Linked DNA regions of Homo sapiens: region 2 is linked to region 1. Evidence: promoter capture Hi-C in human tissues and cell types (Jung and others, 2019). All regions are on one chromosome and are shown on one strand. The core of a region is centred on a gene start or on the middle of the fragment in contact, and the rest is flanking DNA. Distances in the headings are between cores, read along the strand shown.

Evidence for each region. Contacts are between HindIII fragments. The study calls those that stand out against the background at their distance.
Region 2: a fragment that was not itself captured here is called in contact with the fragment with the promoter of FOXA2 in region 1 in 1 of the 25 tissues and cell types used here (thymus).

The regions. Positions count from the first base shown.
Region 1 is chr20:22,582,065-22,588,787 of GRCh38, forward strand. FOXA2 (forkhead box A2) reads right to left here and starts at 2,508. Exons shown (of 2, transcript NM_021784.5): 1 at 2,128-2,508; 2 at 1-1,090. The coding sequence starts at 2,214. It overlaps LNCNEF (lncRNA neighboring enhancer of FOXA2), which reads right to left. Exons shown (of 3, transcript NR_109883.1): 3 at 5,458-5,724. RefSeq lists enhancers at 1-540, 541-1,113, 2,538-3,293, 4,049-4,804, 4,805-5,559. The HindIII fragment of the contact is 10,630 bases long and covers 1-4,186 here.
Region 2 is chr20:22,308,801-22,315,523 of GRCh38, forward strand. No RefSeq gene overlaps it. Among named protein-coding and RNA genes, the nearest start is that of LINC01427, 29 kb to the left of the region's middle. The HindIII fragment of the contact is 7,948 bases long and covers 1-6,723 here.

The DNA of each region.
Region 1 (6,723 bases), core at 1,258-3,757:
GCTGCTCCGAGGACATGAGGTTGTTGATGGAGAACGGGTGGTTGAAGGCGTAGTGGTGTTCCGGCTTCAGGTGGGCCTCAGGCGGCAGGCCCGGGTGGTGGGGCGGGCCCAGCAGGTGGGCCGCGGCCTGCTGCTGCTGCCCGGGAGAGGGCGCCGGCTCTGGGGGGCTCAGCGCCGCAGCCGGCGTCCCCTTCAGCTCTCCCAGGCCCCCTCGCTTGTGCTCCTGGCACGGGGAGGCGCTCGAGTGAGGCGACTCGGTGCCCGCCGGAGTCTCGGAGGCCGGCCCGGCGGCCTCCCCGAGTTGAGCCTGTGAGGCCTGGGCTCCGGCGGCCGCCTTCTTGCCGCTGCCGGCGGCGCCTGCGGCCTCCTTCAGCGCCAGCTGCTTCTCGCACTTGAAGCGCTTCTGGCGGCGCAGGTAGCAGCCGTTCTCGAACATGTTGCCCGAGTCAGGGTGCAGGGTCCAGAAGGAGCCCTTGCCGGGCTTGTCGGGCGAGCGGGGCACCTTCAGGAAACAGTCGTTGAAGGAGAGCGAGTGGCGGATGGAGTTCTGCCAGCGCTGCTGGTTCTGCCGGTAGAAGGGGAAGAGGTCCATGATCCACTGGTAGATCTCGCTCAGCGTCAGCATCTTGTTGGGGCTCTGCTGGATGGCCATGGTGATGAGCGAGATGTACGAGTAGGGCGGCTTTGCGTGCGTGTAGCTGCGCCTGTAGGTCTTGGGGTCGCGGGCGCGGCTCAGGCCCGCCTGCCCGTACATGGGGCTCATGGAGTTCATGTTGGCGTAGGGGGCCAGGCCGCCCATGGCCCCGGCCGCCTGCCCCCCGAGCGGGCTCAGGCTGGGACTCAAGTGCGGCCCCATGCCCGCCACGCCGGCCGCCCCGGCCGAGCCGCCCATGCCCGCCATGGCGCCCGCGCCGGGGGACATCCCCGCCAGGGACGGGCTCATGCCAGCGCCCACGTACGACGACATGTTCATGGAGCCCGCGCTCATGTTGCCCGAGCCGCTGCCCATGGCGGCCGCCGACATGCTCATGTACGTGTTCATGCCGTTCATCCCCAGGCCGGCGTTCATGTTGCTCACGGAGGAGTAGCCCTGCGGACAGAGCCCCGGGAGGGAGGCGACAGCGTTAGCACCGCGGCTGGAGGGTGCCCAGACCTCCCACCCACCGCCCAGGCCTCCGCGTCCGGGGAGGCCTCCGGGGAGCCCTTTCGTCCCCGATGGCCCAGTCTCCGGACTCCGAGTCTGTTTCATTCAGGGAGAGTCATGATCGATCGCCCTTGGGAAGGTGGCGAGCGGATTGCTGCTTGGGCATGTGGCCCGTTCCTAGCCCTTCTCCACCTCGCCCAGATTCTAGAACAGGGGTCCCATGGAGTACTCCCAAGCCAGCACCCCAAATACATTCCCCTACCCCAGAGTCTCCCCAAACTCTCCCACCAGCATACTGAGCTGGCGCCGAGGCCCGAAGTCCCCGGACGCCACCTCCGGTCGCAGCAAGCAACCTGCGGGACAACGCGCGGGGCGCCTCGGGCTGCCTCCAGCGAAGACTGTCCCGGGCCCCCTCTGTCCGGTCTCCCTCCAGGGACCCCCTCCCTTGTCCCAGGGAAACTGCAAGGCAGTGCCTGTGCGGAGTGCGGGGGCGGCTGGAGGCACTGAACGGGGCAATAGGGAAAGAACCGAGACCTGAACCACACGCGGCTGAGCTTTGCAGGCAAAAACTTTCTTTCTCTTTGTCCACTAGTCTTTGACTCTGCCTCCACTTCAGCCCCCAACTCCTACCCATCTTCTCCTCCTCAGCTCCCCACCCCCTCGCCGGCCGACCTCCCACCCCTCCCCAGCCGCGCGCTGCCAAACATAACTCTGTTAGGATAGTGCGTGGCTCGGCCACGAAGAGGATTTGGAGGCGCCGCAAGTCAATATTTGATCACAAAGTTAATATTATCTCAAGGCTAACAGTGTGTCGTATAAAAAAGAGACCCATTTGATTCCAAGGAGGGCGGAAAAGGCGGCTGCCCAGAAAGGCTGGGGTTGTGGGGCGGGGTGGGGGGGTGCCAGCGAGGGAAGCGGTCCTGAGGTTGGGGAAGGAGCGAGCGCCGCCGCTCCACTTCCCCCTGGAAAAGACGAGCGCTTACCTCGGGCTCTGCATAGTAGCTGCTCCAGTCGGACGGCTCGTGCCCTTCCATCTTCACCGCTCCCAGCATACTGGAAGCCGAGTGCATGGCAGTTTAAAATTTAACAGCCACAACAAACGACCAGCAATCACCCCCCACCCCCACCCTCTTTTAAAAAAAAGTCAGCCAAAGCACCGTCCCCTCCTCCCTCCCTCTCTCGCGCTCCCTCTCCCTGGGCTCCACTCCCTCTCTCTCCCTGGGCAGGCCGGAGGCGGTAGTTGGAAGTGGGCGGGAGGTGGGGGGGGGCGAGGAGCGGAGGAGGCCCAGGCCAGCGCCCCGCGGTAGGGAGCACCCGCCGCCGCCGCGCTCACGGGCTGCCGGGTGGCGGCTGAGGTTGGCAGTGCCGAGCTGCCCCGAGGCGGCGGGAAGCGCGCGGCGCGGGGGCTAGTGGGGGGGTGGGGAGGAGGAGGAGGAAGGAGGAGGAGGAGGCGGTGGTGGTGGTGGAGGAGGAGGAGGAGGAGGAGGAGGAGGAGGAGGAGGAGGAGGTGTGGACCGCGGAGCGGACAAGTGCCGCAGTGACGTGGGAGGCTGGTGATATAGCGCGGCGCGCTGGCGCGGGCCTCCAATCCCCAGACCCGGGGCAGCCCATTTGAATAATCAGCTCACACCTAGGTGAGAGGTAGCCGCAGCCGGCGCTCCGCACCTGCCCCTCAGCGCCTGCCGTCCGCCCCACCGCCGCGGCGCCCCGCACTCCTGGGCGGGCCAGGGGAGCGGGCTGGGCGGGCGATCGGGCACGCGGGATCCCTGGTCGAGCCCCCTTTCCTCCCGGGTCCACAGCGAGTCCCCTGAGGAAGGAGGGACCTGGGAGGAAACCACCCTCTGGGGCGGCTCCGGCCTCCAGCCCCCGCCCCGTCTCATCGCGCCGGGCGCCCGGTGCGCCTGTCGGAGGGCGCGTCCAGCCTCAGTGCCCGGCAGATCCCTATGAAAGCCGGATTTATTTATGCCGGGTTTCTTCGCTCTCAGTGCTCATTCTCTGTCAAAACAGCAAGTCCATGACAGCCAATTTGCAAAGCGCTGTCCTATTTAGAAAAACTACGTACACACCTTTAACTCGCCCGCTGCTGCTCCTGCGAGGCCCCTCCCTGTTACAGTTCAGACCCGGAACGGCCTCGGGAGAAGCGCGGGGCGCACGGTCTGGCCGCCTCGGCTCTCCGACTCCTCAGACACCGGCCGCCAGGGACCCGCAGTGGGGCGGCCGGCGCCTGGCGCAAGCAGCCCCTCTAGCAGCGGCCGACGGTTGGGAGGCTGAGATTTGTCTCTGATATTCAGGCCGGCGTGTTTCAAGGTTACTTTTCAGTCACAACCGAGGTGCCCACAGCATTTCGTAACTAAAACAAACAGGGCAGGAGGTGGGGAGGGAGGGGTGAGGAGAGAAGAATCCAGGAATCAATGATGGGGCATATGGAGTTGACTTCAAGAGCGTCTCTGTCCTCTCTGTCTTCCAGAGGGACTGCTTAATAGAAATTAGAAACTCCAGCAATCGTATACTTTTATTTCCCCAGCAGCTCTTGGGTTCAAAAATTGTCTTCTGTTCTGGGTTAGCCTGTGAGCCCAGATTTGGAGTGGGGGGATATTGCAGGTGTTTGGATGTGGAGGCTCTTTCTTGGTTCTGAAAACCTGGCTGGACCTTGGGGATCCAGCCCTGTACCCACCCCCTCAGACACAGAGAATGCATAGGAACTAGTGGGCATCCAGCCCACCTGTCCAAAATTGGGGGCGATGGTGGCAGAAGACAGGCGAGATGGCAGACACGGAGCTTCGCATTGAAGCTTGAGTAAGGGTGAGGCTGGAAGGCAAGCGAGGAGGTAGCAGTAGGCACAGGGGAACCACTTCCCTAACCCCAGGACTCTCAGGTCTGCACGGTTTGGGACACAGAAGGAAGCCGCCGGCAGCATCTTTTGCTGCTGAAATGCAGATGGTTTGGACACTTCATAAAGAGGGCATTAATAAGCCCGCCGAGTGAGCGCCAGGGCGGGATTCTCCCACAAATTCAAGGTCTGTATCTCCGCGGAAGCCGTGCCTATCGGTCCCCCGAGTGCTGAAGGCTCCCACGAGGGGCAGGCCAGCCCGGTGCGCCAGGGAAGGAGCTTGATGGTGTGTACGGCTACGTAGTGAACGTGGAGGTGTGCGCAGCGGAGTCAGAGGGGCTAGATCCCCAGCATTTCCCACGGGGTCCCACCTAGCGCGTGGATGGGAGCAACTTCATCACTCCACCGAGGGCAGGGAAAGAGGAGTAAGCATTGGAGCTCAAAGAATGAGCAATTTTTCAAAGCTTTCTCCGCAGGCCTGGGCAGACACACACGCACACACACACACACCGCACCCCCAAAACTCAAAAGAATGTTATGGTTGACCTAGTCTGTGCGTGTGCTGTATGAGAGTATTTGTGAGCTTATGTGGGTGCCCACTTCCCTTTCTATTTTGCTCCTGGGTGGAAATTTGGTCCCAGAAATTATTCCAGGAACAGAAGGAGCGAGCTGGAGGGCCGCAGGAGAAGGGGGCGCTACACTTCCAAGGAGCGGACTTTGGAAGCCCCCACCTCCACCACAGCACTATTGGTGGCCGGGGTCAGGGACACCAGAGAGCGCTCGGCGGGGGCTTCCACAGTGACAGGGCGCCCCCTGTCGGCCGCCAGGCCCGCGGGACCGACCCGAGTCCTCATTTACCCCCGCGATCCCAACCCCGCAGCTCCGGCACCGGAGCACCTTCTCCCCCGCTCTCCCAGTCTCTCCGAAAACGCCTTCGGGGGGACTCGGCCTTTTTGGAGCCCCAACCCCTAGGTTCTGCGCGAACCCAAAACGGCCTCCTGCACCCTGGCGAGGTTCTGGGAGCTCCGGTAGGGTAGGGCTGGATGACGCCTCCTAGAGTCTCGGAGCAGCCGCTCCCGCACCCTCCCGGCACGCCTGCCCATGGGAATGCGAGCGGGGTCTACGGTTAGCTTTAGGTAGCTGGGAGCGGGACACCAACGGGCTGCGAAGGAAGCAGGGACGTTCAGACAGCCTGGGGTTCGCGTTCCCTTCCAGCTCAGCGGTCTTTGGAGCTCCTCCTTCCCGGAGTTCTGATTTCTAAAGGGCTATCCAGAGTTCTGGCTCAGGCTTGAATGCTGAAGATTGCTCCCGGAGTTTCTCTCCAGGAAAAAGTTCGCGGGGACCTCGGGCTGCAGATGTTTCTCCCAATCCCTCTTTAGTCTACCCTCATGTAGGGCCGAGACCTACAGAGCCCTTCCCTTTCCATTTTGTTAGGTCACCGCCGGCTTCTATAATAAAGCTGCTTTATAACTGAGGACTGTGCTTGGGGTTAGCATGCTATTTTTATTTTGGATGTTGCCTCAATGGCAAAGTCATAAGACTCGAGTTCAAATCCAGGCCTCCTCTGCTCTCCCTGGGAAGAAAACACCCAGGCCATCCAGGTCTCCTAGGCCTTCATCTTGCTGGAACAATCTGCGTTCCCCTAGCAAAAGTCCTCCCTAGAGCTCTCTTTGTCACATGAAACCAACCAGTGCAGAAGGGGCATCATTGAACAGAACTCAATTTTCCTAAGTGAGAACCCATGAAATACCTAAGGAGAAAAACAATAAAAGTCCCATTAATACTCCAATTCCTAAAACCTTTCAGAGAATAAATACCCAGGCAAGGCCTTGCTCAAAGTTCCCCAGCGTGTTTAGGGCAACATAAGGCAGATATGTAGGCAAGATGAAGGCAGAGGGGATGGAAAAGTGACAGCACAGTCTTGGGAAAGTATGCATTTTTACTTTCTTATAAACTTTTTAATTGGTAAAAAAGCAGATGTCCAAACACCCCTTATTCATTCTCTGGATGAATCTCAAGTCTCAATGAAGAAAAGGCATATCGTGTGTCAAAGATTATAATCAACATTTCACTTTCTTTGGGTGGGTTATTATTTCTGAAATGTACTGAAAAATCAGCCAGGCGCAATGGCTCATGCCTGTAATCCCAGCACTTTGGGAGGCCGGGGCGGGCGGATCACCTTAGGTCAGGAGTTCAAGACCAGCCTGACAAACATGGTGAAAACCCATCTTTATTAAAAATACGAAATTAACAGGATGTGGTGGCCCATGCCTATAATCCCAGCTACTTCGGGGGCTGAGGCAGGAGAATCGCTTGAACCCGGGAGGCAGAGGTTGCAGTAAGCTGAGATCGCACCATTGCACTCCAGCCTGGGCAACAAGAGCAAAACTCAATCTCAAAAAAAAAAAAAAAAAAAAAATTAGACCATCAAAATTTGTCTACTTGGCACTGAGCACACCTTCAAACACTTATGTTGGCTTTCAAAGTTCTTGGATGGTCAAAAGACCAGTTGTTTACGGAGAGGGCAATTGAAAAGGTCATTAGCTAAGAACACCTTATCAGAGGGTATTTATGTAAAAGAATAAAAAAATTCAGCATGTTGCAGCCTTCAGCAAAGGCTCAGGAAAATGCTGATAAAGGGGGAGGCAAGGTGCAACATTTTAAGTTTAATACTGTGTGCACCTGCATGCAATTTATCTCTCCACCGCAAGATCCACAGGAAAAGATGAAACATACATTTTTAAAATGA
Region 2 (6,723 bases), core at 2,223-4,722, 270 kb before region 1:
GTTACTTTAGCTTTAGACAATTTGTCTTATTTTCTGATTTGGTCATTTTTCCTACAAGTGTGTGTATAGATATTTTTTAAGTAAATCTTCATGCTTTTTAAGTTCTGTGATAATTTTGAATGGAACTGCATTGACTGTAGTTTCCTAGATAGCATCAGCATTTCTTCCCAATCTGTAAAATGAAGATTCTAGTGGAGGTATTTTTTTTTTTTTCCCAGGCATTGAAGAAAAAGGGAACAGTGGGCCAAATACCTATGGGTGATTGGCCAGCAAGCTTAAGCCTTGCTTGTATAAACCTGGAGCCTCCATAGTGTCAGTGTGACCTTTGGGCAGAAATGGAGAAATATATTAAGACAAAGCCAGCATTCAAAAGGGAGCCAATGTCAAGGAATGTGAGATAACAGTACATTCTAGCAATAATGTTCACTTGTTAAGTAGACGCTATTTGTTTAATAAACCATTAATATACAATAATATTACATTAAATCAAACTCAATTCAACATTTATTATGTATTTTGTTGAAAATATTTTCACAAGATACATCATATAAAAAATATTTTTTCAATAAATTATATAATACCGTAAAGTTTTTAATGTTTGAATGATATTGTGTCTGTGGTGGAGAGAATGTTGGATTTTTATTTTCTGGCAGTAGAATTTATTTAATCTTTATAAAATGTAGTGTCTTCATTTGGAACATTGGGTTAATAATACTCAATTTTTGAAAGTTTGATAAAAATTAAATTATATAATATATGTCGGTGTCTTCAAATGTGAGCTTCAGTTTAAGTTATTGAGGCTTTTGTCCAAAGGCCCCCTCTGTGGAAGCTCAGTGTGTACATTTGTGAATGGTGGGTTCCTCTACGGTTACTCATGCCTCCATCCCCTCCCTCATCTGCTATGGAGTCTGTATCCTCCCAGTGTCTCTTGGAATTTGTTGTGTAAAAGAATCAAGGTAATGAATAAGTTAAGAGTACAATAGAGGAGAGGAAATTGCAGAAGTCTATGGGACTAAATTTTCTTTTGTTTTGTTTGTTTGTTTTTTGAGACAGGGTCTTGCTCTGTCACCCAGACTGGAGTGCAGTGGCATGATCACAGCTCACTGCAGCCTTGACCTCCAGGGCTCAAGTGATCCTCTTTCCTAAGCCTTCCAAGTACCTGGGACTACAGGTGCATGCCACCATATCCAGCTAATTTTTGTGTTGTTTGTAGAGACGGGATTTTGCTATGTTGTCCAGGCTGGTCTCTAACTTCTGGGTGGTCTCTAACTCAAGTGGTCCTTCCGCCTTGGCCTCCCAAAGTGCTGGGATTACAGGTGTGAGCCACCACAGCTGACCAATGGAACTAAGTATTTTAATAGGAAAAGTAAAATTGCTAGTTAAAAATGAAAGGATATATCAAGAAAGTAAATGAAGCAGAGAAAAACAGATAAGAATCTACTCTGTATTCAAGAGAGAAACTTTTTTATTATTCAGACAAGAAAACGGGCTCTGGTGCAACTGCTGCCAATTGTGAGCAGAATTAAAAATAGGTTTTAAATAATCTATATATTTATATATAAAACACCCTTAGGGCATTGTTTGAGAAAATGAAGTAAAGATTTAAAATGTCTTCTCTTTGGATTGTGTTTCTTTGGTTGCTATTCTTTGCCAGAACTGGACCTCAGGGTGGCTGACTGTTGCTATTTTTCAGGTTATACAAGGGTCTTTTGGTATCCATCATAGGCGGCTGGTTCCAGGACCCCCATGGATACTAAAGTCTGAGGATGCTCAAGTCCTACAGTCTACCCTGCGGAGCCAGTGGATACAGAAGGTGAATTCCATGTGAGACTCACGAAGGCAGTTGCTCTTATTCAATAGTGCTTGAGGATTTGAGGGCAGGTCTTCTCAGGAGTTGCTGGAAACATTAAGGCACAAAGCAGGCACAGTTAAAACCTGCGGTCTACTTGAAAACACCGTAAACTTGAAAGTGACATGCACATGAAGTATGATCAATCATGAAAATTGGCTGTTGCATGCAAAGCGCTCTTATTAAAGCGTGCTCTACATCTCTTCGAATGCTTGTTAAAATGCAGTTTCCTGGACCTGAATCAACTCTACCAGGCTTGCTTTTTCAGCAGGTTCCTTGGATCATTCTTATGTGTCCCCAGATTTTAGAACCACAGTGTCAGTGGAACAGGGAATTTGGAAGCCGACAGAAAGGCTTGCGCAGGTCTATACCCCATCACAAACAGTAAGTTTTGTGGCTTGCATATCTTGAAATAATACATGTGAACTTCACTTAGCTCAAGTGAAAACCATTTTTCCCCTGTCCTCAATATTCCTGAAAAAGCAAAGAGTTATTGCCGGGATCTGCAAGTCCATTTGTGCCTGGAGTTTGAATCAATACTTTGGTTTGCACATATGCGTACTATAATTTGTCAAATGTAAGAGGATTTTGTTGCTATTTGTAAAATTAAAAAATTAAAATTATTGTATTTAAAGAAGTAGAACCACAAATTATAATTATGTGAGGATTGACAAAAAATTTTAAAAGGATTTCTGAGGTCTTTTTTTTCCTCCTAATTAGGGAGCCACCCAGTGTCCCTGGTAAGTGTAAGCTATCAGCCAGGGCAGAATTCCAAAAGAGACACAGCCCCAGATATTGCCCTTTAATGACTGAACAGGCAAATTAAGTGGAGCTGACTGATCCATGGATCTGTGTGGAACTGCCTGGCCACGTGTTCTTGGCAGAGGGGTTACTCGGTGGCTACTTCATTGCTTCCAGTCTCTTCCCTATGCCATTCCAGAGGTGCAGTGACACACACACTGCAGAAATTTTTGTGACCCATTTATTCATTTAGGAGACTCGAATGACACCATTAACAAAAATTAGGGGTACAAGCAACATGCAGCAACCATTCAGTTTGGTCTATTCCTTGATTTGGAGAAATCTGGAGATGAACTTTTGGAATTTTCTAGTACTTTAAAACTTTGGCCAAGCATTAAATGGAGTTTAAAAGTCAATCTCTTCAGTAGTAGAGTGAAATCACATGAATAGATTTATACTTGATTTTTAAAATGTCAGTCTACAAAAAGCCAAAAAACAGAGGGAAAAAAACAAGGTTGCAGCAGGTGAAAGAGTTTCCTGCAGTCCATATCAGATGTGAGAAAGAAGCTGTCTGCCTCTTCAATGTGTTAAAATTTGGTTAGAGATCCTCCCACGCTGTATTAGCCTGTTCTCATGCTGCTAATAAAGACATACCCAAGACTGGGTAATTTATAAAGGAATGAGATTTCATTGACTCACAGTTCCACATGGCTGGGGAGGCCTCACAATCATAGTGGAAGGTGAATGAGGAGCAAAGTCACGCCTTACATAGTGCAGGAGAACTCCCTTTTATAAAACTGTCGGATCTCGTGAGACGTATTCATTACCATGAGAACAGTATGGGGGAAACCGCCCCTATGACTCAATTATTTCCACCTGGCCCCATCCTTGAAACATGGGGATTATTACAATTCAAGGTGAGCTTTGGGTGGGGACACAGCCAAATCATGTCACATACCTACAACTGAAACTATTAGAGGTTAAAAGTTTTAAAATTACATAAAACTTCAGTGAGAATGGGAAGGGATTTTATAAAACTGTTTGTTGTTCTTCCCTTCCTCCCCATATATTCTCTAGCGCACACACTCATATCCCCCCCCCCCCACATACACACACACACACACACACACACACCACAGACACATGTTGCCACCCATGAAGTAAGAGTCAGGATTTTTTTTTCTTTGAATATTTCTTTTCCTCCAGGAAATGGTAGAGGCAAAACATCTCTAAAAGAGTTAAGGATTTTTAAGACTTAAAGGTGTAAAGGATAGTAGTTAGTTCTGATTTTCTTTTTCCTCTTTTTTTACTCATGCGCCTAAATGTTTTCCTAAACTTGGAGCCAGAAAATGAGGAAAAGGGAAACATTCTCATGAAAACAAATCCAACCTCCGCTCAAAATATATGTATGAAAGTTTTCCTCAAACCGATTTTTCTTTTTAGATTCCAAAAAGCTCATTGAGTTGGCTTTTTGAGCAATCAGCGTTTTCCAGTAGCAAGCAAATTTCCTTCCCAGTGGGAAATTTGCTGATAAAACGACTGGAACCAGTGCGCCACCTGATGGTCTTTCCACACATTTCAGTTTACTAGAAAAAGGCAAAAAAAAAAACAACCATGGAAATTCCCTTTAGCAAATGTACTGTATTCTAACTTGAGTCAGGGCAGAGTCTCATAGATTAACAGTTGCTGCTTAAACTAAATATTCACTCACTTTATATAAAACAAAAACTATTTTATCCATGACCTTCAATCTGAATCCTTTATTAGACTAATTTGTTAGGAAATACTAAGTTGATCTAGTTTGCTGATAATTTTCATTTTCATTTTTCAGTTACAGGCAAATATTTTAAAAGTACATATTAGAGGCCAAAGGACGTTATCCAACATCATTCCCAACCCCCAAAGTAAAATAAGCCCTCAGGTAATCTAGAATCAGCCTTCCAAATGTGGGAGTTGCCCAAGGTCATTTCATTCAATGTGAATCAAAAATTAATTGAGCTCAAAGTTAACACCATCAACAGACATCATGAGGATCCTAGAAAGATGCACTGAGAAGGGCCCAACATCACTTCTGTGGGTTTCGTGCCAAAAATGAAAGACACTGGAGAAATCCAGGGAGTAACAACCTAGAAAATAACTGGCCTCTGCTCTTCAAAGACATCAAGGTGAAGAAACACAAAGAGATCCTGAGGAAATGTTCCAAAACAAAAAAGCCTAAAGAGACATTAACCCAAGTATGATTGGATCCTGGACTGGGGTAAATAGGAAAAAGGACATTGTTTGGACAAGTGATGATATTTGAAAATGGACTTGGGACTAAACAATAGCATTCTATCCATGCTAAATTTTCTTATTTTCATAATAATATGATGGCATGTAAGAAAATGTCTTTGGTCATTGGAAATATATGCCTTAAGAAAATCTGCAAGAGTTGAATCAACATATGGATACAGAGCATTGAGGTCACTTTGCTTGTAGGTGGCACAAAAAGAAAATAGGTACAGGTGGGAAGTCCCAAGTATCATGTTTTCTGCTCCCTGTCCTTGTCTAGGGCTGTCTGGCTAGGGGCTGGGATTCTTGGTAAGATCTGTCTTAGAGTTAGATCTTGGTAGATGAGATCTATCTTATAGATATGGAAGATCAGCTTCTATATCTCCCGTATCTATAAGAGGAAATGGATATTCTCCCACCTGCTGTCTTTAGCCTCCCTTCCTAGGATGCTCTGAGGATCAAAGTAGACAATAGTCTAAAGGTTAAGAATGTGTTAAACCCCTGTATGGTAGAAAGCAGGGAAAGAGGGAGACAGGGTACCCTCTACTGATGAAGGTTCCAGTAGCTGGGAGAGAGAAACTATCTGTATGTTTCAGGAAGTAAAGTCAGATATAAAAATGCAACCAGTAATTAGGGATTTGTATCATGTATGCCAACTATAATTCTCAGTTTCACCATATTTCTCTCAACATTATCTCATCAGATTTGTACAATGACTTTGCATATGATGTGGAGGAAGTACTATAAGCTACATTTTATTGATGATGACAATAGAGCTCACATATAAATAACAGCACCTCTATTTTGTTTTGTAGATATTAGTCCTGGACAGAGCTGGTGTAAGTTAATAGGCCAACTGTCTCATGGACATTCACAGCTCCTTGGTTTGATCCAAGATGATCCCTTAGTAGAGGCATCATAGTTTTGCAGAAAGAGCTGTATCTTTGAAATATTCCAGGCCTGGATTGGCATGTCATGTGTACCACTTCCTGAGCATACAGACTTCAGCTGGGGTTGCTCTACCTCTCTGAATCTCAGTTTCCCCAAGATCTTGTGCTTTTAACTACACTGCATGTCCATAAATGTTACAAGCATTGTTTTGCATGTGTATTCATTATAATTTGTTGTAACTTTATTGAAGTATAATACAAATATGGAAAAGGGCCATGTCCACAGTGTACAGCTCTGTGCACTTCCACAAAGAACAAACTTGCGACACCATCACCCAAATCATGGAAGCAAATGCCACCCAGAAGCCCTTTCTCTGGTAGTATTGTCTGGTAGTATTGACACCATAAGTGGGATGTTACTGTACACATCATTTTGCAATTTGCTGTTTTCAATCAAAGTCATGTTTTTGAGCTCTAAACTGCTGTATTGAATGTAGTTCAAATTGAGAAAAATCATTTATCTGGAGCATTTTCAACAGCTTATCACTTAATAAAATAAGATAATGCATAGAGCGGAGAAGGCAGGAGAGAGAAAAAAAGGAGGGGGAGGCAGAGAGGGAGAGAGACAGGGAGTGAGAGAATGAATATGCTGAGCCATTTCCCCCACTGCCAAGCACAGTAAGTCCTTCTGACCAAACTAGGGGCAGCCTTGTCTGTGGCTGCCTGCATCTGCATCTTCACACATTATGCATGTGAAGGATAATGTTCTGGAATGTCCACTCACATGGGTGTTCTCTGGCAGGTCATTTTTAATCCCTGTGACCTCCTAGGGGAAACATCCTTCCCCCGTTTCTTCATTGTAACTCATTTTCAGATCCCAGTGGATCTTTGCCAAGCATTTTATTATATTTATTTTTCTTCCTTGATAACCTTGGCCTTTGCTGATTTCATAGCCAAAGTGGTAGAGATGAA